3 separate regions of the Homo sapiens genome follow, and all the other regions are linked to region 2. The links are contacts of gene promoters, found by promoter capture Hi-C in blood cells and fetal thymus (Javierre and others, 2016). All regions are on one chromosome and are shown on one strand. Each heading gives the region's core, a stretch centred on a gene start or on the middle of the fragment in contact. The rest is flanking DNA. Distances are from core to core; before and after follow the strand shown. Region 1 overlaps COBL (cordon-bleu WH2 repeat protein). Region 2 holds the start of DDC (dopa decarboxylase). Region 3 has its middle 70 kb from the start of SPMIP7.

The links. Contacts are between HindIII fragments. The CHiCAGO score rates a contact against its expected background, and 5 or more counts as called.
Region 1: a contact is called between a fragment that was not itself captured here and the fragment with the promoter of DDC in region 2, in 1 of 17 cell types (erythroblasts). The highest score is 6.5, in erythroblasts.
Region 3: a contact is called between a fragment that was not itself captured here and the fragment with the promoter of DDC in region 2, in 4 of 17 cell types (neutrophils, total CD8 T cells, naive B cells and 1 more). The highest score is 8.8, in neutrophils.

What each region holds. Positions count from the first base shown.
Region 1 is chr7:51,016,260-51,019,990 of GRCh38, forward strand. COBL (cordon-bleu WH2 repeat protein) reads right to left here. Exons shown (of 13, transcript NM_015198.5): 13 at 1-1,309. The coding sequence ends at 1,292. Among named protein-coding and RNA genes, the nearest start is that of GRB10, 240 kb to the left of the region's middle. The HindIII fragment of the contact is 3,491 bases long and covers 665-3,731 here.
Region 2 is chr7:50,564,155-50,568,146 of GRCh38, forward strand. DDC (dopa decarboxylase) reads right to left here and starts at 1,251. Exons shown (of 15, transcript NM_001082971.2): 1 at 1,131-1,251. The HindIII fragment of the contact is 1,002 bases long and covers 416-1,417 here.
Region 3 is chr7:50,163,933-50,167,941 of GRCh38, forward strand. No RefSeq gene overlaps it. Among named protein-coding and RNA genes, the nearest start is that of SPMIP7, 70 kb to the left of the region's middle. The HindIII fragment of the contact is 1,361 bases long and covers 1,647-3,007 here.

The sequences.
Region 1 (3,731 bases), core at 1,160-3,659, 450 kb after region 2:
GATGAAGAGCAATTGGCTGGTAGCTCGTGCCTCACCAAGAGTTTAGCAACGTTAATCAGTGAATGCAGAACAGCTTCCATTCTACCTGAGGCCTAGATCTGAGATCGCTGTGAAACATTAAAGTGACCTCACCATACTTGTTTTCTCACTCAGATACACATTTTATTTCATCAACACATCTTGATTTCTATTACTTTTTTCAATATAACAAAATGTTTTAGAGATATATATGAAAAACTACTGCTGTAGTTAGACCTCATTATAAATATTGGTGACTGGGCACCATGTGAGAAGACCACGATATCATACAAAGGGAGCCAATGAGCTGTTGGACAAACGCGTCAAGGCTGAACCAAAATTGTGATGCTCTCAGCGCAACTTTGATCTGAACTCTTGACAGGTGGGCATCCAACATCCCTGCTCCTTGACCCTCTGCAGGATTCCAGAAGGCTCCCAGTGAAGTCATCAGGCTCCGTACACAGGCACCGTGGGGGAGGCCTATGTCACTTCATAGCCTGGGGAATGGCTGTCCATGTGGGGCACTGCCCATCCACTCCAGTGGTGGTGTGACCTCAGCCACCCGCCACCCTTGCAGGACTCGGGCATGCCCTGGCCACATGATCACGTAGGACTGTTTTCTGGGTGGTAATAGTTGATTTTTAAAAGCTTAGTTGGTCAGATCATGGACTGTGACCCTCTGTGAAGTGTTAGCCCCAAATATTTGAGGAAGAAGAATCCAGCAGTTTTACTACCTAACAAAGCCACCTTTGAAAAGCCTCCCAATTTTTTTTTCTTACTACCAAAACACACAGCATCATGGAGCATATCACATTCAGATTGTTCCATCTGATTCATATGTTTTTTCTAAAATTCAAAAGATCTTAAATCAGTAAGTAGTTTCATCCATCTGTATGTGGTAAAAGTCTCAAAGGTCCAAAATCAGTCTAAGGCATGATTCTTTTTACTTTGCCCATAAATATAATTAAGTGTGAGTGCTGGGCTCCAGCATTTATAGTCCCATTAACCTGCCAACAAGAATCGTTTATTAGCAACTTAAGATATTCAGAGGCAAAACACATTTCCTTGGCACACGAGCTGCGCAGCGACACAGCATCTTCTCCTTTCCTTTCAAGCCGTTATACAGGAACACACCGAAAATCAACTGTGCGCATTTGGCCTGTAGACAAGAAAGTAACACCAAAACTTGATGTTCCTGGCTATGCAGACTCCTTGAGTGACGCCTGTGGGCATATTACAGGTGGGTTTCTGCAATTCTCTGGCCTCTGTTCATTCACACGAGCAAGGGCACCTGCAGGGAAGAGAGATTCACAGTTATTTGGTATGTCAATAAGCCCAGGATGCAGATCTTCTGGTGCTAGAGAGCTCTGTGCACAGCCACTCTTGCAATAGTACTCCTGGAACCCCCTTCCCAGTTCCTTTGACCTGCAGAAAGGAGGCTGTGATCAGGGCTGTCCTCACAGACCTTCTCACGCTCCAGCTTCCTCGTAAAAGCTGCCAGGGAAGGACGACTAGCAGGATGCAGAGGCCCGAGGTCAAGGGAACTGGGAGGTGGGCCCTGGGGTCCTGGTCCAGACAGAGGACACTGCCTCTTGGGCTGTGTGGGTACGCATCTGAGGCCTTGCCCTCTGCTCAGGTGTGCCTGAGAGGATCGTGACTAACATTTGATGTGGGACGAGTTACCCTCTATAACTTCAGTTTCTTCATCTTTATATTGGAGACATACCCATAATAATGACAATAATAAACTGCTTGTTTGGTTAAGCTGATGTTTTAATGAGTGGACTTGTGTCACACTTTAAATGGTGTCTGGCACATGGTAAGCACACAGGAAGTATTCTAGGTACTTTCCATGTGGTGATGGTGGTTAATTGTGGTGGTGGTGGCAGTGGTAACGGTGGTTATGGTAATCGTGGTGGTGGTGATGGCGGTGGTTGTGGCAGTGGTGATGGTGGTGGTAACTGTGGTGGTGACGATGGTGGTGGTGGTGGTGATGGTGATGGTGATGGTGATGGTGGTGGTGATGCAGACCCTGCCCTGTGCATGCTCTCTCACACATCCCTCGCATCAATCTTACAGATGAGGAAGTGAAGCCCCAAGGCCCAGAAGAACTGGGAGGATCGACACCACCCGGGTCTGTCTTGACACTGGGCGCACCTGCCCTTTTCCTGATGCTCCTCCATATCCCTCTCTTCTCTAGGTTCTCTCGGGCCCTCTTCCTGAACTCCCATGGTGGGGATTTAACATCTACTTCAAGCCTGTCCAACTCATGGCCTGGGACCACTTTAAATGTATCCCAATACAAATTCGTCAACTTTCTTAAAACATTATGAGGGTGGGCATAGTGGCTCACACCTGAAATCCCAGCACTTTGGGAGGCCAAGGCGGGCAGATCACCTGAGGTCGGGAGTTCGAAACCAGCCTGACCAACATGGAGAAATCCCGTCTCTACTAAAAATAAAAAATTAGCTGGGCATGATGGCACATGCCTGTAATGCCAGCTACTCAGAAGGCTGAGGCAAGAGAATAGCTTGAACCCGGGAGGTAGAGGTTGCATGAGCTGAGATCGCACCATTGCACTCCAGCCTGGGCAACAAGAGAGAAACTCCATCTCAAAAAAAAAAAAAAATATATATATATATATATATATATATATATATATATATATATATATATGATTTTTTTTGCAATTTTTTTTAAGCTCACCAGCTATCGTTAGTGTTTTTTATATGTGGTACAACACAATTTGTCTTCCAGTGTGGCCTAGGGAAGGCAAAAGATCAGACACCTCTGATCTACTTGTACAAACACAGTGCTCCACTTAGCCAGATGTTTCCTGAGGGCCCCACTTATTAATAGGGGGAGTGTTACAGTCTGAATGCTTGTGTGCTCCCAAATTCACATGCTGAAATCCCAACCTCCAAGATGGTGGTATTAGGAGGTGGGACTCTGGAATTTGATGAGGTCATGGGGGTTGAACCTCATGAAGGGATTGGTGGCCTTATCAAGGAGGCACCAGGGAGCGTGTCTACCCTTCCATCACATGACACGATGGGCAAGACTCATGGAACTTGTGATGTGGAAGGGAAGGCAAGCATCCAACAAAAACCACACCAACTGCTAGAGAAATTAGAGCTGTGGTTTGCATTATGAAGGAAAAATTATGTGACGCTGTATTGGGAACCTAATCTAGACTGAGGGAGGCTTTCTGAAGACGTGAGGTTAATAAAGGAACAAAGGGATGAGTCAGGAATGAGCTGGTCAAATGTGGGGAACAGCTCTGGAGGAGTGGAGAACAGCATTTGCTGGCCCTGAGGATGGTCACTGTGGTAGGTGTGCTTCTCCCAGGAGGCTCCTCCCCGTTCTACCTGCAGAAGAGGCAGCTGACTCAGTAGAGCTGCAATAAGCAGAACAGTCACACGCAAAGAGTCTGCAAAGACAGAACTGACCCCTAGGCCTCAGAACAATTTCACATTAACCAAAGCACACCACAGGTTTACATTACGAGCAACTAAACCAGGGGTGATGCAATTGTATTGTGGGTCACATTCACATCCTGATAGAAATTGCTATTCCCTCGTCACAGCAACTTGGAGTTCTCTAATGCACATATGAGGACCTAGGGCTTAGATGAAAAGAGAGTTGGTGTGTTTTTTCTCTTTCCTGGTTTGGGGCCTCCTGTTACTGTCACATGTCTAATCATTTCTTACAAG
Region 2 (3,992 bases), core at 1-2,500:
TCCCTGGTTTCAAAAATGTCACATATCCACTTTGCCAGGACTTCCAGGGTAGAGTTCTATAGGGTCATCTTCATCCTACACCGCATCCAGATAAGCACAGGGAGCAAGGCTGAATGCTGGAGGGACTTACCCCAGCCATGGGAGCAGCGCTTGTCGCCCTGGACCTACACACTGGATTGCTTGGCTGCCCGACAGCACCAAGTGCAAACGGGCTACATTCACATTTCGTCTCTGCCAGCTGCAAGATCTTATGCCATCCTCCTCCCCTCCTCTGGCTGTTTGCTCACTTGTGAAATGGGGATGTGACTGGAGGTGAAGAAGGCAAACCTTCTAGACAGAGCCCAATGTAAACTGACCACTCAGAAGTAATGGTTTTAACTCACGCATGATGGAGAGCAATGATTTCCATCGATTAAGCTTTGATTCTTATATACTTCCGACAACAGACTTAAAACCAGGAGAACTTCGACTCCTTGAAGTCGATAACCGAACAATTCTCCCAATAGAAATTCCTATCCGCATATGTTTTCAGATGGGAATTGTACTCAGCATGGCAAGTTGGTGGGAAAGATCTTCTAATTCTCCTCAAATCACACTGCATAGGTAGACACCAAATTGACCTCTAAGTAAACTATAACATACACCAAAAGGAGAGAGCCCTGACGGAGCCTCAGATGTTATAAAGGGAAGGGCAGAGTTCACATTTACTAATCACCTCCATAAAATCATGGGATTTAATCCTCACAAGGTAGATACTAAGAAAATCCTCATTTACAGAAGAAACAGAGGCTGGGGGAATAAAATACCCAACACCATCCCTGGTGGTGCATGGAAAAAATAGAATCACATCTGGCCCGCATTTGCTACTGAGCCAGTCATGAAATCATTCCCAGCACCTATCAAACATGTGTCACTGGAGTGACTGTGTGTGCATGGAGAGCCACCAAGTGCACAGCCCCCACTGAACAAAAACCCCTGCCAGCCTGCAGCAGAAGAGAAAGCACCACACAAGCTCCCTCAAGTGAGTTAACCTTTAAGCAAATGTTCAGTAACATGGGGCCAGAGAGTCAAGGTACATGTTGCTGTTTTCCACTACTACAATCTGAGTAGGTATAAAATCAGAGACTTACATGCTGGAAATTCGAATTCCTTACAGGGCTACTCTCCTTGATGGGATTCTCCAACTTTGGGGACTGAAGAGCATGTGGAGAAGCTGCTGAGGCACTCGGCACTGAGACAGTCACTCTTCTTGAAACTCCAAGCCACACGTTTCCCTCTTCTTGCATTTCCAGCCACATGTGCCAGTTAAACATTAATTCCTGATGGTGACAAAGGTCAAGGAAATCTTGAGAAATAGCTCGCCTCTGGGAATCCTGAGAGCACATTCTGAAGAGACTGTTTCATTCCAAATCCTGGAAGCTTGGATCTTTCTTATGTAATTCTACATACATCCCATCTTTTACTAAGCAGCCCTGATTTCAAGTTTGGAGCCCATTAAGTCATCTGATATGTTCCAGCCCTGCACCAGGTGATGCCTGCATTGCACACAGCCTCCTGCCCCTGAAGGCAGCCCCAAAGTAAGCCTGCACTTCCCGGTGCAGCACTCAGCAATATGGGTAAGATTTCCAGGTTCAGATATCAGCAGAACCCAGGAACTCACCTTCCTTCCCCAAACCCATCAAAATCATAGTTGAGATGCATGAAACAATACTCTGAGTGGAATTTGGACAAATTTATAAAAAAACCCCAAAGTCGATAGAATTTTATGAGAGCACAAAGCAGGGCTGAGAAAGCCACATTGAGAAGTTGAGCAGGCACAGCCTGCAGGGATCTTAGGAGCTGGTCTTTCTGGCAGACCCCCAGCAGCTCCAAGCGTGGGGCTCAGTGGGTGTGAAGAGCAGAGTGAGAGTGAGGCTGGCTGCGGGCAGCTCATTAAAGGACTGGAAACAAGGCAGAGAGGGCTGTCACTAGAGCCATTTGTCACAGGCTAGATGCAGGGAAGAGCTCTCCTTGCTCTATCCTAGGGGACTGGAGCAGGCTGGGGCGGGGCACCTAGGGTTCCTATTGTTAGGACTGGAACTGGAGAGAGAAGCAGAGTGACATTGAGGAGTCTCAAAACCTCCACAGGAGCCATTGGAGGAAAGAGGGAAAAGAGAAAGAATGGCAAGTGAGCCCTCCAATGACGCACACCCAAATGCTCCCGCCTGGGGTCTCACAGGAGCTGAGAACCGAAGAAGTGATTGTCCTTGGTAAGGGGAAGAGTGAGGGAAGGGCTCCAAAGAGGGAACAGCCTCTGCAAAGTTACTGAGGATCAAGCTCGGCATCTCCCAGGCCCTGACAGAAGGCCAACTCCTAAGGACCATTCAAAGTAGGGGAGGGGGAGTCTTGCAAGCCACGTTACGTAATTTGTATCCCCCCAACTGTAATAGAAGGCATTGAAGTGTTTCTAGAAAGCAGTAACCTTAGCTTACTTATGGTTTAAGATCACTCTGGCTCTGGGGTAGAAAATGGATCAGAGGGAGATAAGGGTGAAAGGGTTAGACCCTTTAAGTTGGACCACCAATTCCCACCACATTCCTTGGATTTCTGCACTTTCCTGCAAACCAGGAGTGAATTCAAGTGAATCCATTCTAGGAGATGGGCTGGGGGAGGGAGGGGGGGCTTGAGATGAAGAAGCGTGCTAATATTCCCCATAAGTGCGTGTGTGTGTGTGCATGTTAGGAGGTTGCTGGACAAGGGGAGGAGTCAAGGGGATGGAACGACTACCCAGTGATGAAGCCAGTGGGCAGGGGATGACGGTCATAGACTGAGAGGAAGAAGACTGGGGTGGACCAGTATTGGGTGTGGGGAGGTGAAGGACACCAAGGATTCAGTTTGGGAATTAAATTTCAGATATCCACAAATCGTGTGATTTGAGATGTCCAGTACAGCTCAGAAAAAGAGGCCCAGACAGGAAATAAAGTTATGGGTTGAAAGTGTTTAGATGATATTTGAAGCAATAGGACTGGAAAAAAAACATCCATAGAGAAGAGAGACCTCAGTTTTGAAATCCTCAAAAAAGTGAACTAGTAGTGTCCAACTACTGAGCAACAGTTATCTCTCAATAGAGAAATCTACATAGGAATCAGCATCCGTTCCCAGAAGGGACTCTTTTTACATTTCCTTTCTTCTTGCAGGTGTGGGATTTATGGGGAATAGGGGTGAGGCTTCGAGGACCAAAGAAAGAAATCTAGGGCAGGATTTCCCAACCATGGCACTTTATCAGTCAGGTTTCTCCAGAAAACTGGAAATAATAGGATATGGATATAGGAATATAAGAAGAGATTTATTGTAGAAATTGGCTCATGTGATTATGGAGGCTGGGAAGTCCCACAGTCTTCCATCTACAGGCCGGAGAACTAGATAAGCTGGTGGTGTAATTCATCCTGAGTTTGAAGGCCCAAGAGCAGGAGAAGATGGATATCCCAGCTCAAGAAGAGAAAGAATTTGCCCTTCATCCACCTTTTTGTTCTATTCTGGCACTCAACAAACTGGATGTTACCAGCCCACACTGGTGAGGATGGATCTTGTTTACTTTCTGGAGATTCCAATGCCAATCTCTTCCAGAAACACCCTCATGAACACAACCAGAAATCCTGCTTTACTGGCCCTCTGGGCATCTCTTAGCCCACTTCAGTCGACACATAACATTAACCATCCCAGCACTATTACATTAAGGGTGTATAATTCTCTGTGATGGGAGCTGTCCTGTGCATTATAGAATGTTTAGCAGCATCCGGCTTTTACTCATTAGGTGCCAGTAGTCCCCAGTTGTGACAACCAAGAATGTCTCCAGGCATTGCATGTTTCCTGGTGGCAAAATTGCCCCTGGTTGAGAAAGGCTGATCTCGTGTGACCTTGTAATGCCCCAGGGCAGGGGAAGGTAGCATGGGTTGCAGCCAAGGCTGTTCCTGGAAGAGGGTGAGTCTGCTCTTCCACAGGAGCAGCAACGG
Region 3 (4,009 bases), core at 1,077-3,576, 400 kb before region 2:
TATTAACTGATAGCTTAAACACTTGAGCCAGGGTTCCACATTTGAAACTGACATTTGAATAAGCCACTAATGGAGTCATCCTGACCCAGGTTCAAGTTTGACAACCACTGATGACTCTGAGGGCTGTGTGCCTGCTTCCTCCTGCATTAGCTACATTTTAATAAAATTTGTATCTTCTCTATTTCCTCAAGGATCTAAGGTATCTCCTAATACTGAAAGGACTTAAAGTGGACACAGAAAAATCTAAAACCTACGTGGCTTCACGTTTAATTTGTTTCCCATGAGTGTTTCATGCACAAAATGGAGCGTTGGTTTTAGGAAAAAAAAATTAGTCCATGTCCTGATAATTGTCCAAATTGCCCTTGTGGTCAGAGAAGGCAATTATCCAATAGTAGGAATAACTTACCAACCCAGAATTATTTTCTAATAAGTGAAAATATTCCAAATTTAATCTATTTGCTCCCTTTAGCACAGTACAGACTCTGGGCTGGGTGACATGGTTTTCAGTGTTTTTTTGTTTTGTTTTGTTTTGTTTTGTTTTTTGTTTCTTTTACTTTGTGTTGTAATACACCCTTATGCATCCTATCCAAATGATATTCAGAAACAATACTGTGGTTTTATTTGACGCCATTGTATTTTTTTCATTATGGTTGGTTTAAATATAATACTCACAATTACTGTTGTCAAAGCAATTCCCATTTCACCCTCTATAAATGTAGATTCCTCATGGAGTGGTGAAATTGACATTGAAGAGCTGTTTCAGCCCTGTTCATCTTACCTGCTAATTACAGGTGCACAGGAAGAGCGCTGGTTTCCTCTGTGCCGGCCCAGACTTGGCTGGTTACCCAGACTGGGTTTCCAGGGCAAATCCCATTGGTTCTAGTTTGTAAACTGTAAATGGAAACAGATTTACTTCCTTACATGCACACTTTGGAAATAAAGCCCTAAAAAGTGTTCAGTGTTAATCTACGTTTCCAGTGCTGGTACATTGTTTTTATTGTGTCTTCCGTGGGCAGAGCCACAAGATAAAAGATAAAGTGAGACAGCAATGGGCCGGTGAGGACAGGCAGGAAGAGGTGTCTGGGCAGAGGAGGGGTGGGGAAGAGGCGCTGAGGGTGTGGTGCCCTGAGGTTGTAGGGTGCACATTGTGGAAGGTTGGGGTATCTGCACTGGAAGGCCAGTGTCACAGGATTGAGGCTGTCTGCTCTGGAGGGACCCATGGGCAGGGCCCAGACACAGCCCTGGGATGGCAACCCCACAGTGCTAAGCACAGTTCCAATGCAGGATTGCTGAGCTCAGGGCAGGGCTGTGGGCTGAGTGGGAACCGTGCTGGGCAAAGCAGAAATCAAGGAGAACTGATGTCTGATAGCTGAGGGTAGGGGGTGGTATCAGAACACTGACTGTTGTCTACTTGCTGGAAAGAATGACTTCCAATCACAAATTAGTATATTGAGTAAATATTCCCCAACATTTAACGGCTTAGTACTATGCTTTCATACTCAGTTATCTAAGAAGACATACAACCAAAGTCTTCCCTGAGAAGTTTACTAAAAAGTCAGTGTTTCAAGGTAGATGCCCTATGGGTCCTTTCCTGGGATGATTCTAAGATCATGTGAGCAATTGTAGACTCCTAGTCCATAATCTAAAGCTTGCCTAAATAGACTACAAGGATAACAGTCATGTCAAATGCTGCTGGGAGCACCTGGACTGGTTTCTAAGGAAAGTCTTGGCCTTCTGGTTGCTTCCTTGGCATGCATCATGGTGGAGTGGCCTCTGTTAAGGCACAGGCCTTGGTAAGAAGCTCAGTGTTCAAAGTGTGAGGTCCAGCTTATGCTGAACCGAGCTCAACAATGTGGATAGCGGTGGGAGAAACCACTGCAACTCTACCTTCCTCAGCCATTGGGACCCCTCCCAGGAAGCAGCCTCATGGCTGCAAAATCAAATCCAGGTTTGTTGTTGTTGTTGTTGTTGTTTTTGAGACAGAGTCTCACTCTGTCGCCCAGGCTGGAGTGCAGTGGCATGACCTCAGGTTACTGCAACCTCCGCCTCCTGGGTTCAAGCAATTCTGCCTCAGCCTCCTGAGTAGTTGGAATTACAGGCGCGTACCACCATACCAGGCTAATTTTTTTTGTATTTTTAGTAAAGACGGGGTTTCACCTTATTGGACAGGCTGGCCTCGAACTCCTGACCTCGTGATCTGCCTGCCTCGGCCTCCCAAAGTGCTGGGATTACAGGTGTGAGCCACCGTGCCCAGCCTAAATCCAGGTTTTATTGGCAAGTTTGGCCCTGCCACACTTGGGCCAACGTTTATGGAAACAGAGGAGCATTCAGCAGGAAACCAGAAGATGCTGTGTGCTCGCTGCTGATCTATGTTGAGGCAGCCACCCTCCATGCTGAGCAGACAGCTTCTCTTATCTTTCATTTTGTCATCCGGATACTAAATGTGTAATCCTTTTAATATGCAAGCAGATTATGTAAGATATAATATGGAATTTAAAGGGGTGTAAAGTGCTACAGCATATCAAAAGATGTATCTGAATCCACGTCTACAAAAATTGGAATATGGATATATTCATATATTCACGTTATATATCAATATATTCATATTCCAATATTTTGTATATCTATCCGTCTTTGAATATCTTGGAATATGGATAGATATAGACATATCATTTTATCTGAACTTAGAAGTCCCCTTGACTTCATTTTTTCTTTGGGAAAAAACTTATCTTTCCTAATTTGCTCATTAAACTCGGGTCAGAAATATTCATTTTAGGTTATTGGTTTTCTCGGTCTTGCTATTTAAAAGAGTATTTCTCAACTGCCATCTGGAAAAGGTCACAGAAATATTAATATACTTCTAAAACTAGAAGACCAAAAGCCTCAGCTTTCAATATAAGTTAAAGTGTGGTGATGCAAATTGCAGAAAATCAGTGGCCTGTATCTCTTCAAGAATTATTTAATAATGAATTTACCAGTAGCAAAATAAAAGGACCTCTCCTGAGTAAGCTTTAAACACAACTGAAATACACACAGGGGAGGAAGAGCCACTGGGCTTTCTGCGACTCCGAGGATGACAAGGGAAAGGCCATGTGGTGTTCAGACACCTGGGAGGGCCAGGCAGGGCCCTGAAATGACAGGAACCTCAGCCAAGGAGCTGAGGAAGCAGGTAGGGAAGGAGGGAGAGCCAGAAAAGGGGATGCACAGCAGAGACTGGGCCAAGGCATGCTCCCCTTACAGCAGCTACCAGGCCCAGCAGGCCAGCACCTTCCTCTCATGTTCGCGAGGAGCTGTCTTGAGTAAATGCCCCACAGGAGCACACGTGGATTCCTTTGATCTACACACGGGGGACTTCACAACCTCCCAAGGATGAGTGGTCGCTGCTCTTTTGGGGCTACTGTGAGCATTTGTGCAGTGAAGTCAGTTCTTGGCTCTGAAAACCAGTGGAACCAAGCAAAGATTCTCCCCAGATGGAGTACAGGCTCTGTGAAGGCTCATGGGCTGCCCGTGGGTGCATGGCCCAGCCTTTCACTCAGCTTGACAGCCAGATCCTCATGCTGGATGCCAGGCTATGCCTGGGGAGGGCTCCTGGAGCTCAGGCGTGAACTCCATGGTGCTGCAGAGGTGAGAGCATGGGATATTTCTCCAAACCACTGGGACCTTTACAAAACCTTTACCCTCTTCTGCTTAAAAGGTTAGCTTAGCTAAGGCAGGGCAGTGACGTTGTTTTGGTTGTGGTTTGATTCTAGTTCCTTTCAATTCTTCATCGTTTGTCCTTCAAGGTTCCTGGAGTCTGGGGCTCCTGAGAGCAAGCCCCAGCCCTCTTCACAGTGACAACACCCCTTCCTTTCTGGCACACCCTGCAGAGAGGCCACCCTTTTCCCCAGAGGCACCCCTTGTGAGTGAATTGCTCCTGTTCACTTCCTGCCTGAGGGGCAGCATTGAAGGGGGCAGGGAGAGGCAGGGGGAGGGATGTTTAGCAGGGGTGAGGAGAGGAGCAGCCGTTCTG